2 separate regions of the Homo sapiens genome follow, and region 1 is linked to region 2. Evidence: promoter capture Hi-C in 16 types of primary human blood cells and fetal thymus (Javierre and others, 2016). All regions are on one chromosome and are shown on one strand. Each heading gives the region's core, a stretch centred on a gene start or on the middle of the fragment in contact. The rest is flanking DNA. Distances are from core to core; before and after follow the strand shown. Region 1 holds the start of B3GLCT (beta 3-glucosyltransferase). Region 2 has its middle 210 kb from the start of LINC02344.

Region 1 (5,399 bases), core at 190-2,689, 2.3 Mb before region 2:
TCCTCCCATCAAAATGGTATTGACAAGAGACCATAAACCTTGGGCGAATGGAACAAAAGGGAACTATTTGCACTCACACTAAATGGATCACACGTGAAATATTTAGTTCCCAGTTTTAAGAAGTCAATATAAACCACACAGAGAGAAAATTCTTTGTCTCCAGGCCTCCTTTTCAAAACAATCCCAGCAGGTATTGCACAATTGCAGACAATACTGTCCTAATGCATTAGAGCCTAAGTCCCCTAAACGCATTCAAGTTAAGAGGGCTCAAGCCTACAAATGTTTATTCAGCACCTGCTTCTCTGTCTCCAGGACATCCTACTTGTATTCCCAGGGCCATCCTACTTGTACTCCCAGGGCCTCCTCCTCCTTAAATGTTTAGCAAGTAGGTGAATGTTGTATGTCCATGTGAAAGATACTGGCATTCCTAGGGTGCTTAGCAGAGTTGCAGTCACATAGTAGGTATCCAACAAATGAGTAAATATGAAGGAAAACATAGAAACTGCCTTCAAGAGGTCATGGGCTAAACTAGGGCTGGGAAAAGCACTTGGTCCTGTGCACTTCCTTGGAAACAGAAGTGAGCCAAGGCTTGAGGGAGGCACGAAGGAGTTCAGAACCACTGAAGGGAGCCTCTAGTTCTTACTTGTAATGCTTTCCCCTTCAGTGCACCACACAACACAACAGGACCAGTCCCCTATCAGGGCCACCACTCTACCGGGCTGGGGAGGAAAGCCCTTCGCAGTCCTGCGGGAACAGGAGGCACTCCCACATTGCTCCACTTCTCTGTATTCCAGTTTAATTAATTTTTATATTTTGAATAAAATTACACCCACTCTCTTCCATTATGGTGAACACTTAAAATTACATTTATAGAAAATTACATTTACACAAACTTGTTTAAAAGCCAAATCCCAGACCTAGGCTATTGGCCAAATTCCATTTAAAGGGGATATTAAGTAAATTAGTTGAGCTGATTAAAAACACCTTCATCAAAGTAGAGCATTGGTGCCAACAATATTAAGAGTTGAACTATTGATTACATTTTTTTTTCCACAGCAGATAATACATTAGCAGGGAGGAAAAGTGATTACTGCTCGCTTCCACTTCACAGGTAGAACTACTGATGGGGGTGACGCGGTAAGGTGGGAGGGCATGAAGGCAGGGGACGCGGCCTAGGTCAGGAGGGACGCAGAGGAGAAAGGAAGAGGAGGGGTGGAGGCTGGTGGCTGGAGGGGGCAGAGGTCAGACGCCTCGAAGGAGGGCGCCGTGAGGGCAGAGCCGCGGCCACCTCTACCGCAGCAGCCCGTCGGGCCGGACACCAGCCGCAGCCGCCAGCCCGGCAGACGCTGGAAGCGCGCACAGGGGTGCTCCCGCTCCCGGCCGCCAGAGGGCGCGGCCGGCGATGGCGCGGCGGAGACGGAGGGAGGAGGGGAGCCGGCAGAGAAGGGTCAGCCGCGGCGGCAGGGCGGCGGCGGCAGCGGCGCAGCTCCGCTCCCCGCGCGTCTCCCTTCCCCGCGCCCAGGTAGGGCGCTCAGCCTCCGCCGCCAGGATGCGGCCGCCCGCCTGCTGGTGGCTGCTCGCGCCGCCGGCGCTGCTCGCGCTCCTCACCTGCTCCCTGGGTAAGTAGCGGGCGGCCAGGCGCGCAAGGGCGAGGCGTGGGGTTCGCGGGCACAGTCGCCCGTGCCCCGGTCGGCGCGGGGAGGGAGGCGCAGGGCGGCCCAGCCCTGCCCCGCCGGCGCGCGCGTCCCGCCGTCCGGTCCCCGCCGCGCCGCGCCGTCAGCAGCGCCCTCTCGCGGCGCCCAGGTGGGACCCGGGCCCGGGACCCGAGGCGTGCCCGCTCGGCCCCTTTCGGTCTTGGGTCCCCGCTGCCGCCCCGGCCCCAGACTCGCGTCTCCCAGCCTCTGCCGCCCCGAACCGGCGGGCGACGGGGCGGCGAGGGCGCAGCAGCCGCCCCCACAGGAAGCGCGCAGGAACTGTGCCACCGAAGAAACTTTGCAACAGCGCGAGTGGCGGCGGCGGCGGTCCCGCCCCCCTGCCTTCCGCCCGCGCTCCGCCGTCCTGCGCGCCCCGCGCCGGGCGGGAGGCTGGACGGGAGCCGGCGAGGCGGCCCTCGAGGCCCCGCGGCTCCTGTTCGACCCCCGGGGGCGAGGACTGCGGTCCCGGTGTCCGCGCGCCCCTCCGCAGGGCCTTCGGGACGTGCCCTGGCCCCTGAGGATAAGCGGCCAGCTCGGCGCCAGCCCTTCCCGGATTCCGACCCGGAGGAGGACAGGGGCGCCCGCTGGGCCTCCGCGGGAGCTGGCGCGGCGGGGAGGCTTGCTCCTGTCTCGGGTCTCCGCTGGGGACATCAGGGGACACGTCTGCGAGCAGAGCAGTGCTTGCCCGGTCTCCTGCTGCTGTAATGCCCATTCTTTTTTATTTCTTTTCTCCTCGCAAGGGCATTTCCCCCCTTTATCTTAAAACGATGTGATAAAAGTTAAAAAAAAAAAAAAAGCAGCCTTGTAATTGACTTTCATGATCAGATTTGTTCAACTTTGAAAGCTTGAGCGAAAAATTATTTTTTTTTCAGACTGCTACAGAGTTTTTGTCCTCTAACCCAGACTTGCTGGTGTGAAAAGGCAATGATTTCAGATTTTTTAGTAATGGCAGAATGGTGCAGTTTAGGAAAAGACGTAGCGTTATTGCGCACTGCTCTTGTTAGCCCACCGGAACCTTGACAGCCTGTTTTTATTTGTATTTAAGCTCTCTGAATAAGGATTAATTTGCTGCATTTGTGTACTTCTGGCATTTCTATAGGCGCTCAGTAAGTGTGGGAAAAGAGCAAGATTAGTTGGTAATTGTTTACATGCATGATTAATTAGGCAGCAGTGTAATTAAAAATATTAGGGCACCTCCGGCAGAGAAGGCTGTAGTTGGTCTTGGGGAGCGACTGAATTTGGCTGGAATCGGCTTCAGTGGAAGAAGGGCATTGCTGGGTGGCAGCCCTGGGAGAAAGGGAGGTTGGAGGTTTGGGAAAGCGACTGGGTGACTCCTGGCTGCATCAGTTGGCTTGTTGCCTGGATGTTTTGCAACTAACCAAATGGGTGGGTGGTAGCTGAAATTGGTATTCTATTTATAGCACTGCACTTTATAATGCTGTACTGGGGGTATAATATTTGTATATAATATATACAACATATGGGCTGAAATGCACATTTGTATTGCTGTGTCTATTTTTTATTACCCCCAGGGGAATATTTGCACTGTCCAAATTTGATAATACACTGAAGGACATTCAGAATGCACTAAGATGTCAACACATTTTTAGAGATGTCTATTAGCCTTGTGAAGTTGTCAGATAAGCACAATAAATAAGACATAAAATGCATTAAAAGGTCCCTGTGAGACATTTGGCCTTTGGGAACTGGCTTTCATGGGTTGGCACAGACGGGAGGCTGTATTCTTCGAGGTCTGAAGTGAATCATGAATACCTTTTATGGAGCTCTGCTTCGATTTAGGGGAAGGGCACCGACACGTATAAAGATGTCCCCACTTACGATGTTCTTGGAATCTTGCTGAAACAGAATGTGACAGGCGTTCTGTCACATGTGAACAATCTTGATAGTTTATAAATACCTTAAATATTCCCATATAAGATTGGCCTGACTATATAGTTTAGTTTCCCCACAAACTAGAGCATATTTGTTTATATTTTTAGAGAAAAGTCAATATAGAAAATTTCTTTTAAACCCACATGCATATACAGACACGGTTCACTGCAACTTTGGTTCTAAAGTCTGGCACCAGTTTCAGAATGAGAAGATTGAGTCAGGCCTCCAGGTTACCATTTGTTAGCTGTGTGGCTTTTAGTGGCTTTGAGCTTCAGTTTTCTCATATGAACAGGGCGAATGGACTGGATAGAATACTAGCACTTTGCCACCTCTTACAGTTTTAACATACTGATCCCGTTGTAGCAGAGATTGACAGCCACCTGCGAAGTAACCCTTTAGCCCTTGTTTTCCTAACAAAACTAATATAATCTGGGTTGGGGGGAAGGATGGTGGGGTGGTGGTGGCAGCGGTGGCAGCAGCACTGTGAGACATTTCTCAGTGGCCTTTGCATATAGGGGCAGCTAGTGCTCTACAGAGATATCTTTAGAGATTGTTTGGTGGGGCTCCTGGTAAAGCTCATTCAAGGTGGCTGACTCAGCTGGGATGCAGGCCTTTTTGCTCTGTGTTATCCTCCTTCCCATTGCCTATTAAGTGGATCTGAGGGATGGAGCCATGGTGGCCATCTTGTGACCATGAGGTGACCTTGAAGATGGAAGCCAGTAGTAAGGATGGTAGAAGAGAAAGATAGAAGAAGCCTGGATGCCAGATGGATGTGGAGCATCATGTCAGCTCTGCATTTCCTGTTTGCAGACTTGTATTGCATGAGATTATATGCAGCCAAACCTAATCCTATTGCCAAACCTAATCCTAATTGATAGAAGAAGCTTATTCGAACCAATGATATTGATAAAATAATAGGTATTAGCTTTTATTTTTCACATGCCTGTCTGTCACTTCCCTGTGTGAGCCAACTTTGTATTTCTTAGCACCTGCCAAAATTGGGGATGGTTTTTCATTCTGAGCCAGGTCTTGCCCAGATTCCTTTCATTGCAATGAGTCAGAAATTTTAGGACACCAAGAGTCAGACCTAATTCCAGGTTGTTTTGTGTTTTTTGATTCTTAAAACCTTCTCTTTATTTCTTAAGCAGTATGCAGATATTACTGGCACAGATTTTAATCTTCTGGATGGATTCTTTGTCATCCAGGTAGTCCAGGACCTCCGAGTTGGCATGGCTCCCCAGGTCATGGACTTGACCCAGGGGAGTTTGCCAGTAGCCAACAGCTAAGCCAGTGGGAGGGAGGGAGAGCATCTGTTTCAAATAGCAGTGTGAATTCGAAGGAGGTGCTTTGACCCCTTTGGTAACTTCCTGCGGGACAAACATTGTGGGCTCGGTATTTGAGCACTTCCTTATAATTGGCTCTTTTGGAGCCAGGTTTTTTTGGTGTGTTTTACTAGACTCATTATGAAGCAAGCAAGCAAGCATAATTTTTAGGCATAAAGGTACTACTTAGAGAAAATTTGCAAATGTTCTGTTTTTCCTCTTGTAGCATTATGTGTGATCCATCTTTGGCTTTGCACAGATTACTTCTTAAGAACAATATATGGGAGTCCCCATAGGTTAATCTCATCTTTTCCATGATAAAGGAAAAGTTGTGAGTTTCAAGGGTTCATCAGACCTATTGAGGAAGTTCTTCCTTACTACCATGATTTCAAAGTTCTAGTCACTAAGCAACTCCCAAAGAAACCTGATTTAACGTAGGCGTTGACTTGAACTACTAGAAGAATGTCAATTTAAAAATAGTGTTAAAAAG
Region 2 (5,191 bases), core at 109-2,608:
CCCGCCCCTCGCCCTCCCACCAAGACGAGGCGCGCGCACCAGCAACCAGGGCCCGCTGGCGCCGCCCCGGGTTTCCGCTCCGGGGCTCGTCGGTCGCCGTTCGGTTCCGGTTCTGGCCCCGCCCTCACGCGGGAACCCTCCAGAAGTCTTAATATCCGGGACCAGAGGCTGGTTGCAGCGCACATTTCCGGCAACGAGCGCAAAGGAAGGGATCCGGTGACGCCTCTTCCCGTCTCCCCAGCGGCCCAGGCTCTGGCTCTCGGTGCGGCAGCGCCATCTGGTGCCGAGTCTCCCGCCACCCGCGGAGGTGGCACGCGCCCTTCTCTCGGAACCTTCCAGAGAAACCGTGGCCCCTGCTTTCCTTTCTCCCGCCCTGGACGGGGAGGGACCCGAGTCTCCGCCCCGCCGAGTTCCCGCGCGGGAGGGACTTTGTGGCGACTCTGAAGCGGAAGCTGCCTGTAGGAGGAGCTTTACAAACCCAAAATGGAGCGGAAACTGTTCTTTCTCTAGTTTTAAGTCCAGAAGAAACGGCGTCCTTTTATTTTTTGCTTCCTTATGCGTTGTTGCTGGGTCATTCTCAGTCTTCCCCGTATCAGTTCTTTAATCTTTGAGGACTGGGACCCTGTATTAATTGCCTGGTAGGAAGATGACACGAGCTTTGTGGCTTACATTGGCCTCTGCTGTAAAAGCTTTTGTTTCCTTTGGCCTATTAAAGCGCTGTTGTAAAAGCCTGCTGTGTATGTTAGGAACCCATCGAGAAGCAGAATGTAGTAATTTGCTTTAAAATAGGCCATGGAAGTTTCAGAAAGGTAGCCTCAGAAATGCTCAATGTAGATTCGTTTGCATGTCACGTTTCTTTTAGATAATCAGAGAAAGGAAAAGTAATTTCCCCAAAGTTAGTAAAATCAACACATTTTCCTTTAATAATGTTCTTTTTTTCCTGTAATCTTGGAGTACTAACAGAGTTGTTCTAAATGTTTTATTGGAATGGTGCTGTGGATATCAAAATATATAATGAAACAAATTTCCTTTAGAGTTTAGATAGCACATGTTAACTTGACTCTTTGATTGTATTTCTCCTATAGTAATGCTTCTCAAACTGGAGCATGCATCCAGATTCTCTAGAAGGCTTGTTAAAACAGATTGCTGGGCCTCAACACCAGAGGTTATAACTGGGAGGGAAGGTCTGAGGATACAGCTGGATTAGTGTAGCTCTAGTAAAATCTCAGGTGATTCTGATGCTGTTGGTACTAGGACCACACCTGGAATAATTTAGAGTTCAGGATTGCTTTGTCAATAATGCTTTTTGCTGTTGCAGGACAGACGGTACTAAAATATACTGGTGATACTAAGCCTGCACAAGTTAGTAGTCCTTTTGACTCCGTGGATGGGAAGTAGTAAACTAAACCCTAGAACCAGTAGAGAGCTACATAAATGTTCACAGATTAAAGCAACCAGTTCATAGAAATGTATTCTGTATATGATCATGTGATAGAGGGTGCTGTAATACCAAGTATACTAAATATTTCAGTTATTATACAGTAATTGTTCTTTAGCTGTTAAATTAGAAATGACTAAAATTAAGGACAAAATAGTTTAAACAATCATACTAATTTTACCCTTTGGAAGATGCCAGGTTTTTTTCAGTCTTTTGCATTTCCTCAAGTTCCCTTGTTTTACGGAATTCTCTACCCCCAGCCCACTCCCATCCCTACCGTGCCATTTATAAATGTACACAGTGCTTACATTATAAAAAATGATCATCTCAGAACTTGTCTCATCTTTTCAGCAGGACTTTTCTCAATTCTGTCAAATTCTGACTGTGCCACTGCCTTTATTGACACAGTAATTAAATCACGCAGTGATTAAAGTGTGCTGCACACTGTAACTTTTGTGCTTGCTACAAATAGAAATACAGATATTGTTAGATAAGTTTATGTTTATGATAATCAGTTCCTAAAATGTAGAAAGCAGTCGGTTTTCTGGTCTCAGTTTTATTTAAATCACTGCTATTTTGTTTACTGGATGTAAGCTTCCCCCTCTCTGCTCTAGCCTGAATGGGCCTTCGTGAAAAGAAGAAAAAAAAGATTGAGAACAACTGTCTTAAAACCATGGTATTTCCCTAATAGGCTAGTACCATGTATTTGGATAATTACTGATGAATCATTTAAATCAGGGAAAGGTGCATGGTTTTGTTTTTTTGTTGTTTTTTCTCTTTTTTTTTTTTTTTTTTTTTGAGATGGAGGCTTGCTCTGTCGCCCAGGCTGGAGTGCAGTGGCCAGATTTCAGCTCACTGCAATCTCTGCCTCCCGGGTTCAAGCGATTCTCCTGCCTCAACCTCCTGAGTAGCTGGGACTACAGGCGTGTGCCACCACACCTGGCTAATTTTTTTGTTTTATTTATTTATTTATTTATTTGAGACGGGGTTTTGCTCTTGTTGCCCAGGCTGGGGTGCAATGGTGCGATCTCAGCTCATCACAACCTCTGCTCCCAGGTTCAAGTGAGTCTTCTGCCTCAGCCTTCCTGAGTAGCTGGGATTACAGGCATGTGCCACCATGCCTGGCTAAAATTTTGTATTTTCCTTAGTAGAGATCAGTTTTCTCCATGTTGGTCAGGCTGGTCTCGAATTCCTGACCTCAGGTGATCCACCCGCCTTGGCCTCTCAAAGTGCTGGGATTACAGGTGTGAGCCACCGCGCCTGGCCTAATTTTTTGTATTTTTAGTAGAGACGGGGTTTCACCGTGTTAGCCAGGATGATCTCGATCTCCTGACCTCGTGATCCGCCTGCCTCGGCTTCCCAAAGTGCTGGGATTACAGGCGTGAGCCACTGTGCCTGGCCCGAAAGGTGAATGTTCTTTGCCTTATTTTAAACTTTATTGTAATAAATTCACTAATGAAGCAGGCAGAGAAGATGTAAAGGACACTTCATTAGTAATGCTATATTTCATATACCTGCTGTATTTTGGGAGCATTATTGCTATCATTTGGTTTGTTGGATCCCTCCAAATCTCACGTTGAAATTTGATCCCCAGTGTTGGAGGTGGGGCTTAATGGGAGATGTTTTCAGACATGGGGGTGGATCCCTGACACAGGGCTTGATGCCCTCCTAGTGATAATGAGTGAGTTTTCTATTAGTTGCTGTCAGAGCTGGTTGTTAAGAGCCTGGCACCTCCCTCCTATCGATTTTCTTGCTGCTTTGTCTTGCTTCCTCGCTTACCATGTGATCTCTGCACATGCTGGTTCTCCTTCACCTTCACCCACAAGTGGAAACAGCCTGAGGCCCTCACCAGAAATAGCTGCTGGTACCATGCTTCTTGTACAGCCTACAGAACTGTGAGCCAAGTAAACCTCTTTTCTTCATAAATTACCCAGCCTCAGGTATTCCTTTATAGAAAAATAAATGGACTAAGACAGTTGTTAAATAACCTTATTTTGTTGACTAAAAGTAATTAGTATTTTATGACATTTATTTATTATGGCTGTTAACATTACAATTTATCCTGGCTAATTTCATCAGTAAACACTCTTATGAAATGATACTGTAGTTTACTTTCAACCAAGAATTGGTTGACTTTGATACAGTAATTAGATTAGGATTCCCACGTCAGATTTTCTTTCAAAAATAATTCCTATTATTATGTGGAAGCCTCCTTTTCTGATTTTTTTCTCTTATTTTCTAAGAACATAATATGTAAATGGATGTATAATGAATATTTGTGGCAAAAAGCATTTGTCTAAGAAGAATTAAGTTGATTCAGCTGTTAAAGGGGTCTTAGTTGTTAGAGCTTTTTGGCGGTTTATTTGCTATAATCAATAGACTTATTAATACTTTTAATTTTAGCCTAATAGTACTAATAGTCACATTTTGACTAACTATTGGGCCAGTTTTTCTTTGTCATTCATTGGTAGTTGAGTCTCTGTAGCCTTTATACTGCCCTATTTTTGGTTTGCCACATTTTAAATCTCAAACTGCCTATAATTTATACTGTTAGTCTTTGGAAATAAGTTTGAATTGACTATTCTGCTAAACTCATTTTAATGACCATGCTCCCTTGTGATGAGCTAAATTTATTTATTATTGTGTTGTCGTATTAATTTTTTTTTTTTTGAGACAGTCTCACTCTGTCGCCCAGGCTGCAGTGCGGTGGCTCAGTCTCCACTTACTGCAACCTCCACCTCCCGGGCTCAAGTGATTCTCCTGCCTCAGCTTCCTGAGTAGCTGGGATTACAGGCAAGATTAATGTTTTTTATTTGTAATCAATTTAAGCCTAATACATGTTCTAATAATTTTTGTATTTCATATATGGATAAATTATAATAATTCTTTTAAAGTGAAAGTATTGATGAGAGATACTTTTTTTTGGAATAGCTCATTTTAAGCCCCTGATACTTGATATGGATAAAATATTTTCAGTGTTTAATAAAATGTTGAAATATATTTAACTTTACTAATTTGAGCCCTGCCAATTATAATACTTTAGAAAAAGTGAAAATATAATAGTACATTTATAAGGCTTTTAAGTATTCACAAAATAGTCATTTCCCAGTAGATGTTTTTCAGCTCTTATGATACAGTGTTTTCTTTTTCTTTTGGCCATGTATTGATCAGAATTAGTCATTAACTTTACTAACAACTGGATTTAGTTTGTCAGCCTTGATGGTTTGGTTACACAGATGTAGCTATTGTGTCAACCCCACTGTTTTAAATATGTTCCTATGCCAGGTGAAATTTGATCCCTTTAAGCAAATTTCTGTTAAACACTTTGTGTCAGTTTCAGTAACGTTTCCCCAATGAACATTCCTACTGTACAAAATTTTACATATGTGTATTTACATATTTATACTTTTTTCACAAATGTGGGAATTTAGGATACTATGTTTGTAAAAATTGGGCAATTTTTCTTGAAGATAATTTTTAAAATTACAGCAAAACATAGGGCCCTGAGAAGAAGAGGTAAAATATATGGAAGAGCAAGTATGTATAGATAATTTTGTAACGTAACCTTGAGAGAAATATAGAAAACTGAGACAACATAAGCCAAAGGAAAGGAATTGGGATGTAAAACCTTTAGGGTAGAGCAGTGCTCTGCTGTGGTCATTTATGCCTTGGCATTAAGTTCTTTTGAATATAAAACAATGCATTTAGAAGGATTTTAAGACTATATCACAGTGCACTGGCATTTTCTTCTTC

The links. The method cuts DNA at HindIII sites, captures the fragments that hold promoters and counts their contacts. A CHiCAGO score of 5 or more calls a contact.
Region 1: the fragment with the promoter of B3GLCT here is called in contact with a fragment that was not itself captured in region 2 in 1 of 17 cell types (non-activated CD4 T cells); the score reaches 9.1 in non-activated CD4 T cells.

Annotation. Positions count from the first base shown.
Region 1 is chr13:31,198,536-31,203,934 of GRCh38, forward strand. B3GLCT (beta 3-glucosyltransferase) reads left to right here and starts at 1,440. Exons shown (of 15, transcript NM_194318.4): 1 at 1,440-1,619. The coding sequence starts at 1,550. RefSeq lists silencers at 1,081-1,140, 1,191-2,090, 2,151-2,400. The HindIII fragment of the contact is 2,637 bases long and covers 1-2,536 here.
Region 2 is chr13:33,542,556-33,547,746 of GRCh38, forward strand. It overlaps a transcript of STARD13 not described here. Among named protein-coding and RNA genes, the nearest start is that of LINC02344, 210 kb to the left of the region's middle. RefSeq lists enhancers at 252-351, 452-561. The HindIII fragment of the contact is 1,343 bases long and covers 688-2,030 here.